3 separate regions of the Homo sapiens genome follow, and all the other regions are linked to region 2. Evidence: promoter capture Hi-C in 16 types of primary human blood cells and fetal thymus (Javierre and others, 2016). All regions are on one chromosome and are shown on one strand. Each heading gives the region's core, a stretch centred on a gene start or on the middle of the fragment in contact. The rest is flanking DNA. Distances are from core to core; before and after follow the strand shown. Region 1 has its middle 6.9 kb from the start of CHD3. Region 2 holds the start of HES7 (hes family bHLH transcription factor 7). Region 3 has its middle 13 kb from the start of ODF4.

The links. The method cuts DNA at HindIII sites, captures the fragments that hold promoters and counts their contacts. A CHiCAGO score of 5 or more calls a contact.
Region 1: a fragment that was not itself captured here is called in contact with the fragment with the promoter of HES7 in region 2 in 1 of 17 cell types (monocytes); the score reaches 5.6 in monocytes.
Region 3: a fragment that was not itself captured here is called in contact with the fragment with the promoter of HES7 in region 2 in 2 of 17 cell types (erythroblasts and megakaryocytes); the score reaches 5.7 in erythroblasts.

Annotation. Positions count from the first base shown.
Region 1 is chr17:7,879,713-7,884,038 of GRCh38, reverse strand. It overlaps a transcript of NAA38 not described here. Among named protein-coding and RNA genes, the nearest start is that of CHD3, 6.9 kb to the left of the region's middle. The HindIII fragment of the contact is 3,311 bases long and covers 195-3,505 here.
Region 2 is chr17:8,122,284-8,126,708 of GRCh38, reverse strand. It overlaps HES7 (hes family bHLH transcription factor 7), which reads left to right and starts at 2,603. Exons shown (of 4, transcript NM_001165967.2): 1 at 2,603-2,666; 2 at 3,583-3,678; 3 at 4,279-4,366. The coding sequence starts at 2,625. TRG-GCC2-6 (tRNA-Gly (anticodon GCC) 2-6) reads right to left here and starts at 963; the gene lies at 893-963. RefSeq lists silencers at 5-194, 875-924, 1,035-1,084 and enhancers at 275-334, 147-948, 2,225-2,745. The HindIII fragment of the contact is 4,110 bases long and covers 1-3,712 here.
Region 3 is chr17:8,324,681-8,329,032 of GRCh38, reverse strand. No RefSeq gene overlaps it. Among named protein-coding and RNA genes, the nearest start is that of ODF4, 13 kb to the left of the region's middle. The HindIII fragment of the contact is 1,610 bases long and covers 640-2,249 here.

The DNA of each region.
Region 1 (4,326 bases), core at 601-3,100, 240 kb after region 2:
AAATGGCTGCTGTGACTAACTCCCCCCTTATAAAAAATATTTGAGGGGGGGCATTAATCAGTACTCATGCTCAGTCTGACATCAGCATAAATTGTTAAAGGTTAACTAGTTAGATACTAGTCCAACTAGATTTAATTTTTTTTATTTTCTTTACTAGTCTCTTCCTCCCCACCTCCCTTCTCTAAAGAAAAGCTTTTTTTTTTTTGAATACTTCAGAAGGGAGTGGTTTGATGTGAAGGTTTTTTTCCCCTTCAGGCATTGAAAAGGAAAAAGATGAAATATATGTTTATATATAACTCTGTTTCTACATACCTCATTGAAGTCACAACGCATTTAATTGTGTACATATCTTTTAAATGAGAAGCGGGACTGGATTTTTTTCTGCTTTCTTTAAAAAAAGTGATAGAAATCCTAGTGACTTTTGGGGGAGAGATATGAATAGATACGATGATTGAGTTTTTTTCAAAGGAGTCCATGTTTGATTCTCCCCTTTACCCAGCCTTTTCAGTGATTTATAATTGTTATAAATTTTATCTTTACTCTTTTCCCCTTTCCCTCGCTTTCCCCTCCTCCAATTGTTAGAATGTAAAATTCAACTGACTTGAGAAATTAATTTGGGGGGTAAACAACAAATTTTTAGGATAAAGAGGAAAGAGTCAAATCTGAAGATCGTGAAATTATGTTCTCTTTTCTTCCGTTTCAGTATATTTGCCTTCCCTCCATGATCTCCAACACTATCCGATAAAGTAGAAGCAACTGAGGTACCGTGAAAGAGAAAGGAGCTGGAACTGAGAAAAAGCAGAGGTAGGGGTTATACCCAGGCGTTTTCATCTAACTTTCTGACCTGTGATTTCCAACTGTACCCCAGTGTTTATGGTAAAGTGGTACCAGGAATTGGACAGTTGGAAAGGAGTCCCAAAGTAGCTTTCTCATACAGAGATTTGCCCAGAGAGGTCTAGACAGAAAATGATCCTTGCCAAATGGAGCAAAGGAAGGAGGGCAAATAGCTCAGTTCTACCCTCTTTCATTCTTGTTGACCCTTTCTTACTCTAGCTTCCTCCCATTCCTTTGATCTCCCTTTGCCCCTTCCCTTGCTTCCCATTCCATGCCTGTGGAATCATTTCTCTCTGGGTTATTCCTCTACCTCTCCAGTGTAACTGCTGGCCACCCATCTTCGGCGGTGCTCAGGAGCACCCTGAGAGGGAGGGGTAGGTGGGCAGCAACCAGAAAGTATTAGTGACTGGGAAGATGACGCACATTTTTGTTTATGAAGCTAAAATGTTCTTTATTAATGTTCCACTCCCCACACTAATGCACTTTATTGGGTGTTGGTTTCCATCTCTTTTTTTTTTAACCTGGCCTTTGGAATTCTCTTGCTTTGGTTCCCACATCATTTCTGTACTAAGTCTAACTCCTCCTCCTTTTCCAGTTTTCCTGTCGATTTTGCTCTCTTGTCTTCTTTCTCTGTCCCTCTTTACTAGTTCATCTGGTTATCCCCCCCTTTCTATATTGTGGGCTTCTCTCTATTTATGTCTTTGTTTTTAACTGAGACTATCCTTCTCATCCCTTGGACCCTCAGGCTCTGTCACCTCTACGTGACTTTCCATCTCTGTCTTCTTTCTGCTTACTTCTGTCTTCCAGTCTCTGACTGTGTGTGGCTCTTCCTCATGTGTGCCTGACTCCCCCTCTTTCTGGCCCCTTCTGTGTGTGTCTGTGGATCATACTGTGTATGGGAAGTGTCTCCACGTGTATGTGGGCCACACTGCGCATCATGTGCGCCGCAGCCTCTCTGCCTCTGTGCCCTCTCCCTATACTGAGAGCCTCTGCTTGCCACATGTGCCATGATCTGCAGGTGCGGGTGGCTAAAGGTGGCCGTGTGCATCCCTATACAAACACTCATCATTCTCTCTCTTGAGTGTGCTTTGCATGTGGATTTGCTAATTTGCCTTATTCTCCCTCTCATCCATCCTCCCTTTTGCCTGTCTGCATCTCTTTCTGTTCTCTCTCTCTCTCTCCTGACCTCTTGATTTTTCTTCTTCTCTCCTTATTTCTGCCTCTTTACCTGCTTGCTCCTGTTATGGTGTCTGCCTGCCTGCCTGTCTGCTCCTCCCTGACTGGCTGGCAGCCTCTTTTTCCTCTCTGGTTGTCTGTCTGCTTCTCTGGCTGTTTGCCCACCACTCTCTCTCTAGCCATCTGTCTCCCCGCCTGCCTGTCTCTATCACTTTTTTAGCCTGCATCTCTCGGTTTGTCTACCTTCCAGGCCCTGCCACGGCTCCCCATCTTGGTTTGCCTCTTCTCTTGCCCTTCTGCTTGTTCCTTCTCTTATTTGTGCCTGTTAAGTTCCTCCTTTTCCCTTGCCTCCCTTTAGATCTCTCTTGCCTGTCTACCCTGTTTGCTGCTATCCCACCGTTTCAGGCTTTTCTCTCTTTAGTCTTCATACTTACCAGCTTTTTCTTCCTTTGCTTCTTCTCTGCCAACTTCCATCAATGAGGATAGTCTCTCTCCCCTAAACCTCTCAGTAACCCCTTTGCCTCAAAGTCTTATCTAACTTCTTGCCACATCCCCTACCCTGCCTTCTCTCACGTTTGCCTTTATTTCAGTTATCTCTTTTTCTGTCTTTCTGGTTCCTCAGACAGTCTGCCTGTCTCAGTCTTTTTGCCATTTTCCCAGTCTCTCGCTGCCTTCCTGCCTTTTTGCTGTCTGCTTGGCAGGCTCTTGCTGTCCACGTCTCTTCTTGCTTTTCTCTCTTCTTTTGTTTCTTTTTCCAGTTAACTTCTAAATAGGTAGTACATACTTATGGTACAACATTTTAAAAGTACAGAAAGTGTACTGTGAAAAGTAAACCTGTCTCCCATCCTTCTCCCCTAGTCCCGGAGTTCCTCTCCTCAGAAGCAGCCACTGTTTCACATTTCCTGGATACTGCTCCAGAGAAAAGTCTACACATATACAAGTCTTTTTGCTTGCTTGCTTTTGCTTGTGTTTTGCTGTACTCCTCCCTACTTTTCTTCCAGTTTTTCTGGATGCTCCTTCCTCTGTCAGTCTGTCAGTACTCCTAACTAACTTGGCTGGGCTTGCCATCTCTGGTCTTTTTGATTCTACCAAGTGTTACCCAAAGCACGTGTCTTTTGGATTGACTAGTTACTGGTTGCATGCGTTCACTACCAGTACTTGAGGAGTGCTCAGGAAGGCTTTACTCTCTCCAAATGTAGTCTACTCTGCATGGTAAGTGGTCTGATGCCAGCAAGACATCTTTGTTGGTCGCTTCATCACTGAAATGTGTATTGGAGAAGGCATGAAAGCACCGGTAGTACTAAAAAGTACCCTATAAATATAGGCACTGTTAATAAGTAACAGTAAGCTGAGCTTACATGCACACAGAGTAGGTAGAGGACTGCCCTGCTTTCTCACTTAGTCTATATGAATTCTGTAAGGTCATGTGAATCCAGATCCTTTAGGTTGTCGACCTAGGCCTAAGAAGTTTGTCTTCCTCCTAGTCTAAAAAGCTTTCTCCTGATTAAAGCCTTCTGGCTCCACTCACATGCCACCTTAGAGACATTTTATAACTCTTTGAAGGAGACAAAGACACAACCTCTAACCAGGTCTCTTTGAAAAAGATGATAATAAAACTTCTACACACAATGCACTGTTCTTTCATTTCTGCTTTTTTACTGCCTGTTTTCCTGAGTTTAACTGTTTCAGCCTCTATCTTTGTGTCTCTCCACTCTTTCCCTCTTTCCCTCTCTTACTTCTCTTTTCTTGGTTCTTTCTTCTTATCTGTCTGTCTTGATCTCTATTCTAGCCTCTTTTTCTGATTGGCCCTCTCCCCTCTCTTCTGTCTGATTGGCCTGTATCCTTCCATCACCCCATCTGTCTGCTGGATTCTCCCTGTCTGCCTGCAGTAATGTATGTGATAGCACTTTATAAATTATAAAGCACTATGTTGTATAAAACACCATTATCACTTTGTCTTCCTTCTTACCTTATTTTTTCTTCCTTTATCTGTCTTCCCTTCTTCTCTCTTTCTCTCTCTCTCTGTTTGCCTGTCTGCATCCCTTTTGGTGATTTTGCCTGCCTTCTCTGTCAGTCAATCTCCATTCCCTCCCTGCCAGCCTATTTTTCTGCCATCCCTCTTCTCTGTCTGCTCAGTTCTTGCATCTCTCCTTCTGTGTTTCCAGGTTTCTCTATATTTCTTTTGCCTGTGTAGTCTCTCTGTCGTTAGGCCTTTTATCTATGCCTGTGTGTCTCACTGTCTAGCTGCTTGTCTCCCTGCCTGTCACTTTCATTGTGGGGCATCAGTCTCTGCCTTCTTCTGTCTTTCAGTACTTC
Region 2 (4,425 bases), core at 1,354-3,853:
CGGTGGGAGGCGGAGCGCGCCGGAAGGGAGCGGACCGCGGGGAGCCCCGCCGCCCCGCCCAGCCGGCCCGCCCCGCCCCGCTCACAAGTGGTCGCCGCAGGTGGCTGTGCGCCCACCCGCCCGCCCTCGGGCCGACGCGTGCGGGATCAAAGCGGCCGGGAAGGGGCGGGGAGGGGAGGTGGCAGGAACCTGGAAGTGTCAGCGAGCTTCCCAGGGGATGGCAGGAGCGTGGGAGCGCAGAGTCCCGGGAGGCGACAGAGACTCGGAGAGACGACGAGATACCAGAGACCCGAGAGAGCCAGAGGCGGAGATGCAGACGCCAAGACGCGGAGAGACGCGGAATCAGAGATGCGGAGGGAGGAGACCACCAACACCAGAGAGACCCAGGGCAGAAGTCGCTGAAGATCTGGAAAAAACGTGAGAGATACAGAGATGGAGGAGCTAAGAGACACTCAGAGACCCGGAAAGGAGGCGAGACAAAAAAGGCATAGACCCATAGACTTAAGAAAAGAAAGCGTGCTTCAGAGAGAACGGAAAATAACAGAGGAAGAGAGGTGGAAAGAACAAGGGATGTAGAGTGGGGGGCGGGGAGACCTGGCCCTTCCCCCGCGGGGGGCCGAGATCCGAGCACTGTGTCCTTTCTCAGGGTCACGCCTGCGGAGGTGCGGGCCGGGGACGGAGGGAGGGGGGTGTGGAGGCTGCAGGACCCCCATGCTGGGAGGAGGGGAGTGCGAGGGCGTGCGGAATCGTTTAGGCCTGGGGCTGCAAACTCTGCTATAGTCAAAAGGTTAAGATTAATATTTGGTAGAAATATTTAAGTGAAGATGTTTCTTAGAAATGCTACCAAATATATTATCCTTTTTTTGGAGGGGAGAAAAGAAAACTGTACTCGTGCATTGGCCGGGAATCGAACCCGGGCCTCCCGCGTGGCAGGCGAGAATTCTACCACTGAACCACCAATGCGCGGCTTAAAGATTCTGCGGGGATCCTATCTGAGATTGTAAGAGGTTGAGGCGGACCCGGACAGGCAACGGTGTAGGCCAGGGAAGTGGTCCCGAATGGTTGCCGTGGGTGGAGCGCCAAGTCATCCTTCCTCTCGTCCGGATCCGGCCACCGGGCCATAAAGCCGCCCCATATGGCCAGGGGCGGCCCCACACCCGGGTGCGAACAGCCGGGGGCCCCCAGCCTCGCGTGCAGGTGAGAAAAATTCAGCCCGAGCCCAGGTTCCCAAGGAGGGGGGCGGCGGGGGCTGATGGGGACACACATTTGCGTTCCCATTTGGCTGAAGGACGGAGAGGTGGGATGTGCTGGGGGCCCTGATCCCAAATGGGAGCCCCCTCCTCAAGGTCTGTGCCTCTCCCGGCTCGGGCTATGATGGCAAGAAAGGCTTCGTGACAAAACCAAGGTGCGGAGGGCCGTTGGGAGGGCTTGAAGGAAACCCCATTGGTCTCTGATTTCACAGCTGTCTTCCGTCTCGGTCTGCAACCCTGTCTTTCCGTGTCTTTATCCCTGGCAACCTGGCTGTTCCCTTCAGTTTCTGATTTATCTTCTCAGACACTTTGTCCTGAAGCCCTCGAGTGGTCAGGCATCGTTCTGCGGAGGGTCATGCTCTTGGTTTGAGGTGGGTGTTGATCCCTTTTTTGTACCCCTTGCTTTCCCCTTAGTAAACTGCCTGCTCCCTGCTACCCTACAGTCACCAGGGGCCTCCAGAAGCAAGCAATGCGGGCACACTTGCGTGAGGTGTCCTATCAGCCACACTCCTGAATCTCCTATGACTAGTTTTGAATCAAATACTTGTACTGTAAGTGGAAAGACCTCTCCACTCATACCTATGTTTCAAAGACTTGCTCCCTCTGCCTTGAAGATCCTCCTCAGTCCAGCCATCCTTAAGGAGACCTTTTCCCGGAGCACCTACTTCACTGGGCTTCTGTAATAGCTACTTGGTGTCACATGGTCTTTTCCATTAGATCCTGCAGGGATAAGCTGGGTCTCTCCTGCGTATCTCACTATGACTCGCCCGAGCCTAGACAAGTGCCCTGTCCGCAGAGTGGGCGCGCAGATGTTCGCGGACTTGAATGTAACTGGCTTAGATAGAAGAGAGCGCCTCTCCAACCTCCCGGCAGAGCTTCGGTTGAGTCGGACAGATTCACCCAGCGCACTCGGGTTGCTCCCTGTCTCGACTAGGAAGCGAACTTCGGAGATGATGTATAAAATTCAGCCTGGGGGCTGAGAGGTGCTAACTTCTATTTCAGGGTTAGTGAGGGTACAGTAAGCCTCCCAGAAAGCTGCAATTCTGGAGGAACTCTGAATTTCATCCCCAAGCGAGCTCTGCCCCAATAGCCTCCTCCTTTCAGCTGGGTCCCGCCTCCTTATACAGCCTTACGGTCTGTAAACCAGCCAGTGCCCCCATTCACCCCTCACTTCCCGCACTCCCAGGCCAGTTTCTCTCCTTCCCCTCCCCCCTTCACTCCTCCTCTTTCCGGGAGCCTCGTGCCGGGTCCTAGAGGGGCAGAATCTGGATGTCGAAGGGGGCGGGGTCGGGTCCTATCCCTCCTACCCTTGGGCCGCGGAATATAAGGCTCCAGGCGAGCAGGGAACCGGTCCACACAGGGTCCGGAGGAGCAATGGTCACCCGGGATCGAGCTGAGAATAGGGACGGCCCCAAGGTGAGAGGCGGGAGGGGAGGGAGCAGAGGTCCCTGGTTTGGCTAGGGGACTGGGCCCCTGACGCCGTCGGTCTGGAGAGAGGCTGGGGACGCAGGGGTGGAAGGGGAGCGGTGCTCCAGAACTCCAGGAGCCAGAAGCTGGAGAGGAAGCTGCAAAATATGAAGAAGGGGACAGGGGTCAGAGCCAGACCTGAGTGGGCGGCGGGAACATAGGACTAGGGGCCTCGGTAATGGGTGTCGGCACCTTGTGGCCTGGGGAGGGGGCCGGTGTTGGAGTAAAATAAGCAATTAGAGGGCAGAGCCAAGGGAGGAGGGTGGGAACGAAAAGAGAAGAGGATAGGCACTTGCTCCACTCTGGCTGTGAGCCGGGCGGGGCTGGCCCAAGGCGGTCTTGTACAGAAGGTCCCGGGGCGTTGGTTCCAGAGGCCCCAGACTGGTGGAAGATTTTAGGAGAACCGTGGAGAAGGTGAAGGCCTGGAGGGTTTTGAGGGAAAAGAGGCGGCGCGGTCGCGCTAGGTATCTCCCTTTCTATACTCAGGGCCGCCAGGTCTGAGCCCGGCACCGTGCGGCGCACGTGCGTGCGCGCAGAGAGTCCCCAAAGTTCTCCACTGAGACAAAGAGAAACTGCACCAGACGGAGACGTAGAGAGAAAAGAGGAGGAGAGACACAGAGAGGGGAGGAGGGAGGACGAGACTGAGAGAGGAGAATGCGAAGATCCGGGGAGGCGAGCTACAGAAACTGATCTAGGGGCATTGGGAGGGGGAGCGGAGAGGGATCGAATGGGGCCGGCCCTAGGCAATCTGGGGTCTTGTGGCCGGGGTGGAAGCCGGGCTCTCCCAGCGGCGGGATCCGACGCCGGGGCGGCCGCACTGAGTCTCGGTCTGGTCGGCCCGCTCTCCTTTTCTCGCTGGTCGCAGATGCTCAAGCCGCTTGTGGAGAAGCGGCGCCGGGACCGCATCAACCGCAGCCTGGAAGAGCTGAGGCTGCTGCTGCTGGAGCGGACCCGGGACCAGGTCAGTCCCTCCGCTAGCCCTAGGTCCCCAAGCTTCCCGTTTCCGCGTCCCAGGGCTTCCCACTGGGGTGGGGACACAAGCTTGGTTGGCAACCCTGGCCCCAAGGCATCCTCACCCGAGTCCCGCCTTTGGAATTCCATCCCAGACCCCCACTCGCTCTCAGAACGCGATCTTCTTCGCCACCCCTCGGGTCTGTAAGTTTCACGCCTGGTTCTGTAAATTTCGCTCCCGGGGTCGGTCAGTTTCACCCTTTGGGTCTCTAAGTGTCCGGTTCCCCCTCCCCCACAGCCAGCCTCTGATGAGCCAGCCTCTGTTATGTCGGGTGGTTAATTTCATTCCCTGGGTTGCGGTTTCAAATCTCCTCCTCACGCGTTGGGCATTGGTTCCAACCCCTAGGATTGGACAGTTTCGTCTCAGGGTGGGCCAGGACTTTCCTTGGTCATCTCCACTCCGCATTTGGTCGCGCGTTCTGTGGGCAGTGCGCAAATGCGATCGGGGGCACCACCAGCTCCCGCATCCGTCCCTCCCTTCTTCCCCCTGCCACTTTCCCCCTTTCTCCCCACCCCTTTCTGTCTCTGCGCCCTCCCCTCCCGTCTGTAGAACCTCCGGAACCCGAAGCTGGAGAAAGCGGAGATATTGGAGTTCGCCGTGGGCTACTTGAGGGAGCGAAGCCGGGTGGAGCCCCCGGGTACAGCGCGGGGGTGGGGCAGCGGAGGGAGGGAGGGGGGACGCCAGGAGGCTCCGGCC
Region 3 (4,352 bases), core at 195-2,694, 200 kb before region 2:
TCTCTGGAATAGCTAAGAGTACAATTGTATTGTGGATTATCTGAATCAGTTAGGACTCTGTAGCTAATAAAAGAAAGGAGATTCAAACTGGTTTAAGGGATAAAGGGAATTTAATGACCTATAGAACTGAAAAATCCAGGCTGGTCTCAGTGGCTCGTGCCTGTAATCCCAGCACTTTGTAAGGCCCAGGCGGGCAGATCGCCTGAGGTCAGGAGTTTGAGACCAGCCTGGCCAACATGGTGAAACTTCATTTCTACTAAAAATACAAAAATTAGTGGGGCATGATCGCAGGCGCCTGCAATCCCAGCTACTCAGGAGGCTGAGACAACAGAATCACTTGAACCCAGGAGGCAGAGGTTGCAGTGAGCCAAGATCATGCCATTGCACTCCAGCCTGGGTGACAGAGTGTGACTCCATCTAAAAAAAAAAAAAAAAAAAAAAAATTAGCTGGGCATGGTGGCGCATGCCTGTAGTCCCAGCTACTAGAGAGGCTGAAGTATGAGAATAGCTTGAACCTAGGAGGCAGAGGGTTGCAGTGGGCCGAGATCGTGCCACTTCCTTCCAGCCTGGGCAACAGTGCGAGATCCTGCCTCAAACAAACAAACAAACAAAAATAACTGAAAAATCAAGATAAAAGCTTCAGATGAGACTTGATCCTGGAACTCAAGTGATGATAACAAGGACCTGGCTTTCCCCTTGTCTCTCCATTTCCAGTTTTGTGGTGTTGGCTCCTTCATCAGGCTGTATCCAGTGGCCTCCCCAGCAACTCCAAGCTGCCTCTCACTGCACTAAAATGGCAGCCACTGATCCAAACCTTATATCCTCACACTGCAATGTCCAGGGGAAGAGAGAATGGCTCATTCAAGTGGCTCTTGGGTGGGTCTCGAATTAACTGTCTCTGAACTCATTGATCCAAATTGGGACACATACCCATCTCGACCCAATCACAATAACCAAGGGTTGTCGTAAATCAAGGAAGAGTAGCTGGGCGCAGTGCCTCCCCTGTAATCCCAGCACTTTGGGAGGTCGATGGGGGTAGATCATGAGGTCAAGGGTTCAAAACCAGCCTGGCCATATGGTGAAGCCCCGTCTCTACTAAAAATATAAAAAATTAGCCGAGTGTGGTGGCGCACGCCTGTAGTCCCAGCTACTCGGGAGGCTGAGGCAGGAGAATCGCTTGAACCCAGGAGGCGAAGGTTGCGGTGAGCCGAGGTCACGCCACTGCACTCTAGACTGGGTGACAGTGTGAGACTCCGTCTAAAACAAAAACAACAACAACAACTCAGGGTCACTTTCAAATCCAATTTTTAGTCAATATTTTGTATTCTTTATTGTTAAGGTTCCCCAAAAGTCTGGATTCAATCCCAACGCTTTCTCACAGAGGGCAGCTTCAGGTTTCTAACAGTGGACGGAGTGAGAGAGGCTTCGGGTCAGCGGTGGTTGTGAGGCAGTTTGGGCGCAGCCCACGGCTTCATGCCCCGCGGCGGGGGCACGTGCAGGCACCAGCTTGAAAAACTCCATCGGGCGTGGAGCTGACCCATTCGGGTCCGAAGCCAAACCTAGTCGGATCAAGCAGCTGAACGCAGGCCCCGGGACCTGGTGACTGCCGTTGCGACCTCGAGAGTGCTGCGGGTGGGTGGGAAGGAGGAGTGGCTAGCTCTGGGGACGTCGGGCAGTGTTCTGAACAGCGGGAGCCAGTGCCTCAACTTCCCCAGGATTCTTCCGCGGGAGCAGCCCACTCCCATACTCCGCCCCGCGTGGGAGGCGAGCGCTGAGAACCAGGAGACACAGCCAGGCCAGGAGACCCCAGAGTCCAGCCAGAAGACGTGCTGAGACCCCGCTGCAGGAAGCCCTATGGCCGCGCTGCGCTCACTCACTGAGTCCGGGTCTCCGGCAGAGAGACAGGGGCAGCCCCGCGGGAGGGGCGGGCGCGGGGCCAGAGCGGGGCCTGGCCACGTCCGGGAGGATGAACGGAGCCCCGCTAAGGTCGGGAGGACTTCGAGGAGCTCCAGCGCTCTGTTCCCCTTGGTGTCGCCCGAGGCTGATGGAGGGTGGTGAGACCGTGGCTTGGAGACGACGTGCTGGGGAGCAAGGTCGGGAGCCCGCCAGGCTCGCGGTGGAGCTGTCGCTGGAGAGGCACTGCTGCACCGGGACGGTGGGCTGGTGGGCTGGCCACCCTGGAGAACCTGAGCCTGCAGTTACCTCTGTAGCTGAACCTGCGAGTATGGAGGGTTTAGGAAAGAGAAGCTTTCCGAGATGGCTGGAGAGCCAGCCAGGCTGAAGGGCTCCGGAAAGGATCACAGGAAGTGGGCTGGAGGGTTCCTTGCGGGTGGAAGGAGGAGGAGAGAGCTAGTGAGCAGGCTTGGGGGCCGGGGCGTGGGGGGAAGAGGGCGAGGCTCCTCTCTTTCCTCTGTTGCTTGTGGGCATGATTGCAACCCCCACCCCCGTTTATCTGCGATGTTGGCCACTAAGATCTTGACCCGGAGCCCACAGAAGGCCAGCTCAAAGAGAGGCCCGTGCCCTTTACTATCTGCCTTATCTTGTAGGAAAAGAAAAACTTTTTATCTGAGGGGGGCAAGGCTTTTAAAATTATCAGGCCCATAGAGAGGATCGCTTGAGCCCAGGAGTTCCAGACCAGCCTGGGCAACATGGCAAAACGCCGTCTCTACAAAAAATACAGAAATTAGTCGGGTGTGTTGGCTCCTGCCTGTGGTCCCAGCTACTCAGGAAGCTGAGGCAGGAGGATCGCTTGAGCCCAGGAGCTCGAGGCTGCAGTGAGCCAAGATCGTGCCACTGCACTCCCGCCTGGGTGACAAAGCCAAATCTTGTGACAAAAAAAAAAAAAAAAATCAGGGCCAGAGAGGAATTAAAATGAGACAACAGTGACATCCCATTACCCCCTTTGAGCTAGGTATTCACCTCTTTAACTGCTTGCATTGGCTTGCTCTTGCCATAAGTAGCTATGAATTAACCTGGTAATGCCACACTGGACACTATAACCCACCCCCTATAGCTTAACAGTATATAGCCAATCACTAATCAAAGAGCTTCCTTTAAACCAATGAGAATTCCTAACAACTTTGTATCAGCCCACAGCCCACTCCCTGTCCCCCTTTTTTGCCTTTGAAAACCTGCTTGTAACAAAGCCCTAATGGAGCTCATATCCAAGGTTACTTGGGTCTGAGTCTTCCTGGCAGCCGTCCTCCCTTTGTCTTTCGTTTGTTTTTTGTTTTTTGAGACAGAGTCTCGCTCTTGTCACCCAGGCTGGAGTGCAATCACGCGATCTTGGCTCACTGCAACCACTGTCTCCTGGGTTCAAAGGATCCTCCTGCCTCAGCCTCCCGAGTGGCTGGGATTACAGGCGGGCACCACGACACCCGGCTAATTTTTTGTATTTTTAGTGGAGACGGGGTTTCACCATGTTGGCCAAGCTGGTCTCAAAGTCATGACCTCAGGTGATCCACCTGCCTCGACCTCCCAAAGTGTTGGGATTACAGGCGTGAGCCACCATGCCCGGCCCCCTTGGGCTCAAGTAAACTCTTTCAACCATATTTTGTGCCTCAGCCTCTTCCTTTTAGGTTGACAATTGACTCCCAGAATATGGAGGCTTCAGCTATGAGGAGCAGGGCCACGGGTGAAGAGTGTCCACACTGACTCAGAGAAAGGTCCCCAACTGGGGCCAGCTTTCCCACCCTGTCGCCTCAGGCATCTCCCCCCGGGGACGCCTGCACCTTTCCTGAGCCTGTGGAAATGTTGGTTTCTTCCACCTCCCCAGCATGATAGACTGTGAGGGAATAAGGTGATAGTGGCTCTAGGACTCCCCAGCTGACTCAGTGAACCTCTCTGTACTACCCCCACCAGCATGCCTGGAACGCAGACAGGGCACCGCTGAGAGGTTTCTCCCATGGGCCCTCCTACGCCACCTATGAGGAAGTTGCAGGAGGCAACCCAGAGGGGCAGGAAGAACACAGAAGGGAGGGGACACTGGACACCCATAGCAGAGATGCCTGAGGGAGAGGGAGGGAGACAATTTGGAATGAGCTGAGTTACCTCCTGCCACCTGTCCTGCAACACCCCCCATCAGCCTCCCTCTTCTGTCCTCTTTACCCCATCCCCATTCCCATCTTCTGTCTATCCACGCTCTCCTTGCTGTAGTCCTCATTCCCCCACATCCGTTCCTTTCCCATATAGCTGTGTTTCATGCCCTTCGGCCCCCTTAGACAGGCCAGCAGAATGCAGACCCCTCCAGGACAAACACACTCAGGTCACCCCAAAATGGAAAGCAGGCTCTGAGATAACAGAATCCAACCCCCAAAAGTCAGGAAACATGGCAGTCCCCTCCCTTCCTGTCT